2 separate regions of the Homo sapiens genome follow, and region 2 is linked to region 1. The links are contacts of gene promoters, found by promoter capture Hi-C in blood cells and fetal thymus (Javierre and others, 2016). All regions are on one chromosome and are shown on one strand. The core of a region is centred on a gene start or on the middle of the fragment in contact, and the rest is flanking DNA. Distances in the headings are between cores, read along the strand shown.

What was found. The method cuts DNA at HindIII sites, captures the fragments that hold promoters and counts their contacts. A CHiCAGO score of 5 or more calls a contact.
Region 2: the fragment with the promoter of CHPF here is called in contact with the fragment with the promoter of RNF25 in region 1 in 2 of 17 cell types (total CD8 T cells and naive CD8 T cells); the score reaches 6.4 in total CD8 T cells.

The regions. Positions count from the first base shown.
Region 1 is chr2:218,669,952-218,674,237 of GRCh38, reverse strand. RNF25 (ring finger protein 25) reads left to right here and starts at 2,236. Exons shown (of 10, transcript NM_022453.3): 1 at 2,236-2,308. The coding sequence starts at 2,268. STK36 (serine/threonine kinase 36) reads right to left here and starts at 2,152. Exons shown (of 27, transcript NM_015690.5): 1 at 2,023-2,152; 2 at 1,325-1,497; 3 at 473-613; 4 at 282-359. The coding sequence starts at 1,408. RefSeq lists an enhancer at 2,232-2,331. The HindIII fragment of the contact is 1,597 bases long and covers 1,188-2,784 here.
Region 2 is chr2:219,541,514-219,545,799 of GRCh38, reverse strand. It overlaps CHPF (chondroitin polymerizing factor), which reads left to right and starts at 1,991. Exons shown (of 4, transcript NM_024536.6): 1 at 1,991-2,575; 2 at 3,611-4,184. The coding sequence starts at 2,262. It overlaps TMEM198 (transmembrane protein 198), which reads right to left and starts at 1,772. Exons shown (of 5, transcript NM_001005209.3): 1 at 1,423-1,772; 2 at 907-1,111. The coding sequence starts at 1,072. RefSeq lists silencers at 1,570-1,709, 1,750-2,459, 2,470-2,559. The HindIII fragment of the contact is 11,388 bases long and covers 1-3,590 here.

The DNA of each region.
Region 1 (4,286 bases), core at 987-3,486:
CTCCATTTTACAAATTAGGAAACTAAGCACAAAGAAATTAAAGTAACTTGTCCAATGAGACCCAGCTAGGAAGGAGCAGAGCCAAGCTTCCTGCTCAGATATTTTGACTCCAACGTTTACATAATTTACTCCCACACTACACTGCCTCTATATACCTAGACTCTTATATTCTTCTCAGAAGTCTTTGAAATGGAGACTCTCAGTGTCCTTAGCTTGCTCTACCAGTTCTCTAACCTGGAGAGAGGTCGGAGGTGGGGAGAAGTTGAAGGCAGAAAGCATACCTGGTCTTCAGGAAGTTTTCCGTCATCTTCTAGGATCTGAAAGAGCTCTCCCTCAGCATAGTCTGTCACCACCACCACCTACAGAGAGAAGGCAGTGGCACTGATGGCTCCAGATTCATGCATTCTGAGGTTGGGAAATTCCTGGAACCCTTGTGCTTGGGGAGACAGGGCCCAAAACTGTCAAAGCACACCTCTTTATCAGTTTCAAAGCTGTCAAGCATATGCACAATGTTGGGATGCCGCAGACCCCGCATTATTTCAATCTCTCGTTGCAAATTCCTCAGCTCCTTCTCTGAGCGCCCCAATTTTGGGATGAACTTCAGGGCCACGACCTGTCAGTGGTAAGGTGAAAAGTTAACGCCTAATCACACTACTGAAAAGATCTAGAATTTCAGCCTTAATCTCAGAGCTCCAGAAGTCAGATTTTAGAGTGTTTGAGTAACTCTTATTATTTCTGTTAGTCTCCCGCTTCCATTTTCTCCATGGTACCCTGGCCTTATCCAGGCTTTCCCCATTCCTCATCCCAGGAGGAAACAGCATCTGCAAAACATTTCCCCTTCTGGAAGAAGTGTTCTGATTTGACCAGCACTCAAGATGAGATTTAGGAGAAAGGAAAGGAAAAAAAAAATGAAGAGGAAATAATAGAGTTCAAGTGGTTTACCTCTTATTACATGGTGTGCTAGAGACTAATAATATTTGTTGTTTACTAACAGCCAGGCACTGTACTAAGTGATTTAATGTGAAAACATATTTAATCCTCAAACTCCATCAATCAGTTGCTGTTCTTATCCCCATTCTAGAGATAAGGAAATTGAGACATAGGGAAGTTAAGTAATTTGTCCATAATTCTAGGGCTAGAAAGCGGTGGAGATGGAATTTGCACCCAAATAATCCAACTTCAAAGCTTATACTCCATAAGAAGTATGAGGGAGTCAGTACCTTAGGAATACAAACTGGTATAAATACATTCCTTCTAGATCCATTTTCCACTGGAGTTGGGGGTACCAAATCCCACCCAAAAGGTATCCCTCTTTGTGCAACACCTGAGCACTGTATTTTCTTCGACCCTTGTACACCCTCCCAAAAGAGCCTTCTCCAATCATCTCCAACACGTGGTACTTTTCCATGACAGAGGTTTCAGGATCTCTTAGAAGGAAGAAAGTAGAGACGGTGAAGAGCTATAGATCCAGGGACAGTTCCACAACATCTGGGACGCCTAGTTGGGGCACGGGAAAGGAAAAATGTTAGCCACCTTGCCTTTTCCTCTTTTTCACAATAAAGCCTCAAAAAACATGGGAGGGTGGAATGCATGCAAAGATGATGCGCTCTTGGAACAAACAGAGCTTCTCTTTGTAGTTCCTCCCCACTTTCATCCTCCTGTCCCCAACCCGGCCCCATGCCCAACTAACACCTGGTTCCCCTTCTCCCTCACCCAGCCTGGCTCACTCGACCCTACTCTTTCAACCTAGCCTCGCCCAACCAACCCTGCTCCTTTGAGTCTCCCCCAAGTTCCTGCCACTCCCAGACTCCTCAGCACCCGCTCTCAGACCCCCTGGCCCGTGCGCTTCGCAGGCCAGAGCCCCTCTCTCACCCCCAGCCTAGGAGCTCCAAGCTCCTCAGGCCAAGGGACGGATTCCCTGGCGTTTAGCCCCATCTCTTCTGGCTGCCTGCATACGTTGCCTGACTTATAATTCTTCTCCACCCGCCTCTCCCTCCGGTCTCTTTCGGCTCCCTTTCTTACAATTTTACTCGCTAGAACTGGTGAGAAGTTCAGAGGACAAAGGCGCTCAGAGGTGTGGAATGGACGGCGGACCACACATGGGCACTTCCTGGGACACATCCGAACTGCCTCAGGGCCATCAGGCCCGGCTAAGGACCCGGAGTCTGCGGTTGCCTAGAAACGACGCTAGCTGCCCACCCCTCTTAGTTTTCCGCCTCCGACTTCCCTAAGGGCATTTCCGGTTCCGGCTGCGGGCCGGTGAAGATATGGCGGCGTCTGCGTCTGCAGCTGCAGGGGAGGAGGACTGGTAACTTTGGGGGCATGGGCTTTGGCTGACAGCCTGGATCTAGTCCAGAGGCCTAGCAGCTGTCGCAGACGGTCCGTACGGCGGGCGTGTGGGGTGGAGCGAGGGATGAGGGATGGCAGAGATGCTGACATCTCTGGGAAAGCTGGACTGGGGAACGGGAGGGTGGAGGGGCGCTGATCTGAGTGAGAGGAGAACGGGTCGGCGCCCGCCAGGCCAGTTCAGGCCTCGCCGCATCCGGTTCGATCCCTTTTCCTCCAGCTTCACGCCATCCCTTTCTCTCCTCCTCAAATGAATTTTCTCAGGGGCTTTGGGGGATGCCTGCCCATCAGACCTCCCCATCTCCCTTTCTCCTCTCAGAACCAGTGCCCTCCAGTTCCGGCCCCCTTTCCCCTTGGATCAGCCTTTTTCCGCCGACGCTTTCCTCAGCCTTCTCTCTCTCACACAGCACTAGTGAGGACTATTGTATGAATAAAGCTTTACACTTCATATAAAGTCCCTCTAGTCCTTCTCTCAAGCATTCTTAACCAAAGACTAGAACATGGAAGGACTCTGGGATTTGGAAGTAGGATCAATGTGGGTTAACTCCACATTTTATTAGCTGTGTGATGCTGAACAGGCCATCTAGCTTCTGTGAGTCAGTGTCCTCAGCTGTAAAAAAAAAAAGTGGGTGTGGCATTTACCTCAGAATAGTTGAGAGGATCACGACGGATTTGTAATATACTTAAGTCTGTTTTTTGTTTTGTTTTGTTTTGTTTTTTGAGACAGAGTCTCACTCTCGCCCACGCTGGAGTGCGGTGGTGCGATTACGGCTCACTGCAGCCTCGACCTCCCCAGGCTCAGGTGATCCTTCTGCCTCAGCCTTCCGAGTAGCTGAGACTACAGGTGTGTGCCACCATGCCTGGCTAATTTTTGTATTTTTTGTAGAGACGGAGTTTTGCCATGTTGGCCAGACTGGTCTTGAACCCCTGGGTTCAAGTGATCCTCCCACCTCAGCCTCCCAAGGTGCTGGAATTACAGGCGTGAGCCACCACACCCGGCCTCCTTTTCATTAATAACTGAGGTGCAGGCACCTGGGAAGACTAGATGAGTCCCAAAGAAGTAAAGTGATTTGCCAAAAGATAGAAAATTATGAATAGAAATCCATATCTGTCTGACTCCACACCTTAGATTCTTTGTACTAGGACATTCTTCAGTCCCCACTCCCCCAATTTTTTTTTTTTTTTTTTTTTTTTTTGAGACGGAGTCTTGCTCTGTCGCCCAGGCTGGAGTGCAGTGGCGCAATCTCGGTTCACTGCAAGCTCCGCCTCCCGGGTTCATGCCATTCTCCTGCCTCAGCCTCCCGAGTAGCTGGGACTACAGGCGCCCGCCACCACACCCAGCTAATTTTTTGTGATTTTTAGTAGAGACGGGGTTTCACCCTGTTAGCCAGGATGGTCTCTATCTCCTGACTTCATGATCCACCCGCCTCAGCCTCCCAAAGTGCTGGGATTACAGGCCTGAGCCACCGCGCCCGGCCCCCCTCCCCCATTTTGTTGTCACCACCTTACCACCATCCCATCCAGGACCCATATAACTAGGGTGGGCGAAGTATTGAAGGGCCACTTGACTGAGGCTACACCTCAATGTTACATTGGTTCAGGGAGCCCAGCTAGTACTGGCCGTTATTAAGAGTATCTAGACTACTGGTTTTCAAAGTGTTCAGGGAAACTTCTTTTTTTTTTTTTTTTTTAAGAGACAGAGTCTTACTTTGTCACCCAGGCTGGAGTACAGTGGCAAGATCATGGCTCACTACAGCCTCGACCTCCTGGGCTCCCGTGATTCTTCTGCCTCAGTCTCCCAAGTAGCTGGGACCACCGTGTCCAGTTAATTTTTTATTTTTTGTAGAGATAGTGTCTCGCTTTGTTGCCCAGGCTGGTCTCGAACTCCTGGCCTCAAGTGATCCTCCCACCTCAGCCTCCCAAAGCGCTGGGATAACTTA
Region 2 (4,286 bases), core at 742-3,241, 870 kb before region 1:
CTACCTCTGCTCAACCTGGAACCCCAGCCCCCAAGACTCATTTGCCCCCACTGGTCCCACTCACCTACAATTCTCCTGGAGGCTTTCTTTGGGCCCCCAGCCCATAGAGCTCACTCTCCTCTCTGAAGTTCTGTAACTCTTGCTGCAAAGCCACTGGTCACTTACTCCCATTATACTGGGCCACTAGCCCATCTGGCACCTTTATGCATATTAGAAAAAGGTGTGCCTTTCTCTAGGCAAAGCAGCTTTGTGCCAAGGCCCAGAGTTTGTCAGAGCATGAGCTGGACTTTAGCCCCCACTTGCCCACTCAGCTGAGCTCCCTTATTTAGTACCCGTCCTGTACAAGTATTCACAGCAGCTCTGATTACCGGAGCCTGCCTTGTAGGCTGGATGGATGTGTGTGACCACCATCCAGCCCACTCTAATATGTATCCCAGGTGTAAATGCTCCAGGGAGTCTCCTCCCTGTCAGACAATATGCCCTGTGGTAAGGGACCATGTGTAATAACCCTGCTAAGTGTTTTCAGTGGCTACCTAGCACAGTTAGCCAAACACATCCTCACAATAGCTACAATTTATTGAATGCTTACTAATTCTTACAACACTACATGAGACAAATATTGTGATCATTGTTCAGATGAGAAAACTGAGGCTCAGACAGATTAATGTGCCCAAGACATCACAATTAGTAACTGCAAAGCTAAGTAAATTCACACTCAGGTGTGCCTAATCCAAAAACCTGTTTTTCCTATAATCTAGAGTCTAGACAATCTATAAATGTGTGGGATGAAAGAAAAGGAAGAATTATTCATGATGGTAGAGGGATTCAGAGAAGACTTGGGGGCCCAGAAAAAGAACTCGGGGAAACACTGGGGAGCCCAGGTGAGGGATGAGATGGGGATCTCACCGAAGAAGCAGTAGACGACTCCAAACAAACAGCACATGATGCAGACGAGGGCCGGCAGTGCCTGGTACCTGCGCTCCAGGGGCTGTTCACAAGGTGCACCCCAGAAGGCATCATCTGGCTCAGGGGGCAGCAGCTGGAACCGCAGTGTTGCCACAGTCCCCGGCATAGTGCTGGGAATAGAAGGGAGTCACCCTCCCAAGTTAACCTGACAGAGGGAAAGTTGGGGTCACGGAGGAGTCCTGGGTCCCCACCAGGATGGGGGTGGGAGAGGGATTGGGAGAACTCAGCAAGGACAGTGGACAAAGGAATAGTATCCACATTTGTGCAGCTCCGGAAGCATCTCTGGAGTGGGGAGCAAAGACAAAGGGAAACAAAAGTGCCTGGCTAGTGGAGGCTGGGATGAAGTTAAAAGAGGGACGGGAGTCGGGGGGATGAAGGGAGCGTGCTGCCAGTGAGAAGGAGGCAGCCAAGAGATTCATCTGTGGGCGGCTCAATATGGGATTGTCCAAGATTTACCTGGGCTGGAGGCGACCTGAGCTTCTGAGTGAAAGAGGCTGTGCAGAGGCCCGAGGGGCCGGGGTTGCGGGGCGCCAGAGGCTCCAACTGACTGGGGTCCAGGGAAAGTCCGTCGTGCGAGGAAGGGGGCTGCTGGGCCGGAGAGAATGGTGTCGGCGCGGTGGCGGCGCCGCTCCACGTCCAACACCGGCTGGCACTCCAGTCCCGCGGCGTCCGGGAACTCGGGCTGGGCCTGAGGAAGGGGAAGGCGCAGGAGCCGGGGCTCGGGCCGCCCCAGAACCGCGGCCCCATGCCCTGAGCCCGCCCGCGGCCTTTGGTGCTGATGGACAGCTCCGGCCTCTGCTCCTGACGTCACTCAGGGCGCACCATCCAGGCAGGGGCGGGCTGCTTCTGACGTCACATGGGACGCACCAACCACGCCGCGGGAGGCAGGGGACTCCGCCCCCGGCGTCTCCCTCTCCCGCACTGAGGAGGGGGCACTTCCGGGGGTCCTTCCCCTTTAACCTCCCCCTTCTCCTCCCTCTCCGGTAGCGAGAGCCCGAGACCCCACCCCGGGGGCGGGGCCCTTGCAGTGACACGTCGGACAGCTGCGGCCGCGGCTGAGGCTCCAGTGCCGAGCGCAAGAACCCTGCGCAGCCCAGAGCAGCTGCTGGAGGGGAATCGAGGCGCGGCTCCGGGGATTCGGCTCGGGCCGCTGGCTCTGCTCTGCGGGGAGGGAGCGGGCCCGCCCGCGGGGCCCGAGCCCTCCGGATCCGCCCCCTCCCCGGTCCCGCCCCCTCGGAGACTCCTCTGGCTGCTCTGGGGGTTCGCCGGGGCCGGGGACCCGCGGTCCGGGCGCCATGCGGGCATCGCTGCTGCTGTCGGTGCTGCGGCCCGCAGGGCCCGTGGCCGTGGGCATCTCCCTGGGCTTCACCCTGAGCCTGCTCAGCGTCACCTGGGTGGAGGAGCCGTGCGGCCCAGGCCCGCCCCAACCTGGAGACTCTGAGCTGCCGCCGCGCGGCAACACCAACGCGGCGCGCCGGCCCAACTCGGTGCAGCCCGGAGCGGAGCGCGAGAAGCCCGGGGCCGGCGAAGGCGCCGGGGAGAATTGGGAGCCGCGCGTCTTGCCCTACCACCCTGCACAGCCCGGCCAGGCCGCCAAAAAGGCCGTCAGGTAGTGATCGGCTGCGCCCGCTCTACCCCCTGGGCAGCGGCCGGGAAGCGCGCGGGGAGGTCGCCCGGGCCCGGGTCAGGCTCCGGAAGGAAGGGGCTGGCGAGCCAGGAAGTCTTTGGGCCCCGATAACTTCCGATGGCCCTGCCTTCCCGAGAGCCGTGGGGCCAGTCCGAGACTTTCTCTGGGCCCTATCCCGGCCTGGGCTGAACTTACTGGACTGTGTCCTAAACCGGCTCGACCCGATGGCGCCCCAGAGATCCTACTAGCTCCCTGGCTGGGCTGCTGGTGTTAGAGAAATGACTTATATATAGGGTGAGTGTATAGAGACAGGGGAAGAGAAAGGAGAGAACTAGGATTTACCTGGATCTCTTGTTCCTGAGTGGGTTACAAGGGCCACCTCAGGGTGAGATGGGGGAGGGAGGAATGTACCTATCTCATTAATGTCTCTGCTGATGAGTTGAAATAACTTCTAAGTAACATTGGGTTCAAATGCTGGTTCTGCAATTTACCTTCTGCCTTACCAAAAGGTAAGTTCCTAGAGCCCCTGAGTGCAGTTTGCCCCTCCCCGCAAAAACACTCAGTACACCCCTATGCCAAACGTTCCTTTATGTCATTTATGTGAGGCATTTGTGGCATAATGGCATATTTATATAGAAATGAGTAGATACATGGTGTGTCCAGCGTTTGGCTGGGTGCTTTAAACAGATATAATCAGTCCCATTTTACAGATGGCTCAGGTTAAATAACATGCTCAAGGACATAACTACTAAGTAGCGAACCCCGGAGTCAGACCCACAATATCTCTCTCCTATCTGGGTGGGTATTGCCATCTCCCAAATGCAAAGCACTACCTGTTTAAGACCATTTCGTTTAAATCCTCATGACCCCTGGGAGAGAGGGTTTATTTTTAACCTATTCATAGGTGAGAGAACAGATACAGAGAAGACGTGACCTGCCAGGGTCTGTGCTGACCACCTCCCCCCCACCCCCCGCCCCGTTGTCCTTTTGATAAGCTTGTGCCATCTCCTCCCCTAGGACCCGCTACATCAGCACGGAGCTGGGCATCAGGCAGAGGCTGCTGGTGGCGGTGCTGACCTCTCAGACCACGCTGCCCACGCTGGGCGTGGCCGTGAACCGCACGCTGGGGCACCGGCTGGAGCGTGTGGTGTTCCTGACGGGCGCACGGGGCCGCCGGGCCCCACCTGGCATGGCAGTGGTGACGCTAGGCGAGGAGCGACCCATTGGACACCTGCACCTGGCGCTGCGCCACCTGCTGGAGCAGCACGGCGACGACTTTGACTGGTTCTTCCTGGTGCCTGACACCACCTACACCGAGGCGCACGGCCTGGCACGCCTAACTGGCCACCTCAGCCTGGCCTCCGCCGCCCACCTGTACCTGGGCCGGCCCCAGGACTTCATCGGCGGAGAGCCCACCCCCGGCCGCTACTGCCACGGAGGCTTTGGGGTGCTGCTGTCGCGCATGCTGCTGCAACAACTGCGCCCCCACCTGGAAGGCTGCCGCAACGACATCGTCAGTGCGCGCCCTGACGAGTGGCTGGGTCGCTGCATTCTCGATGCCACCGGGGTGGGCTGCACTGGTGACCACGAGGTGGGATGATAAGCTATCCCACTGATACCTCCTTGTCATGTTCAAATCCCTCTGAGAGGCAAAGGGATGTTGGAGATACAGGTCTGCTTTTCCATGCCAATT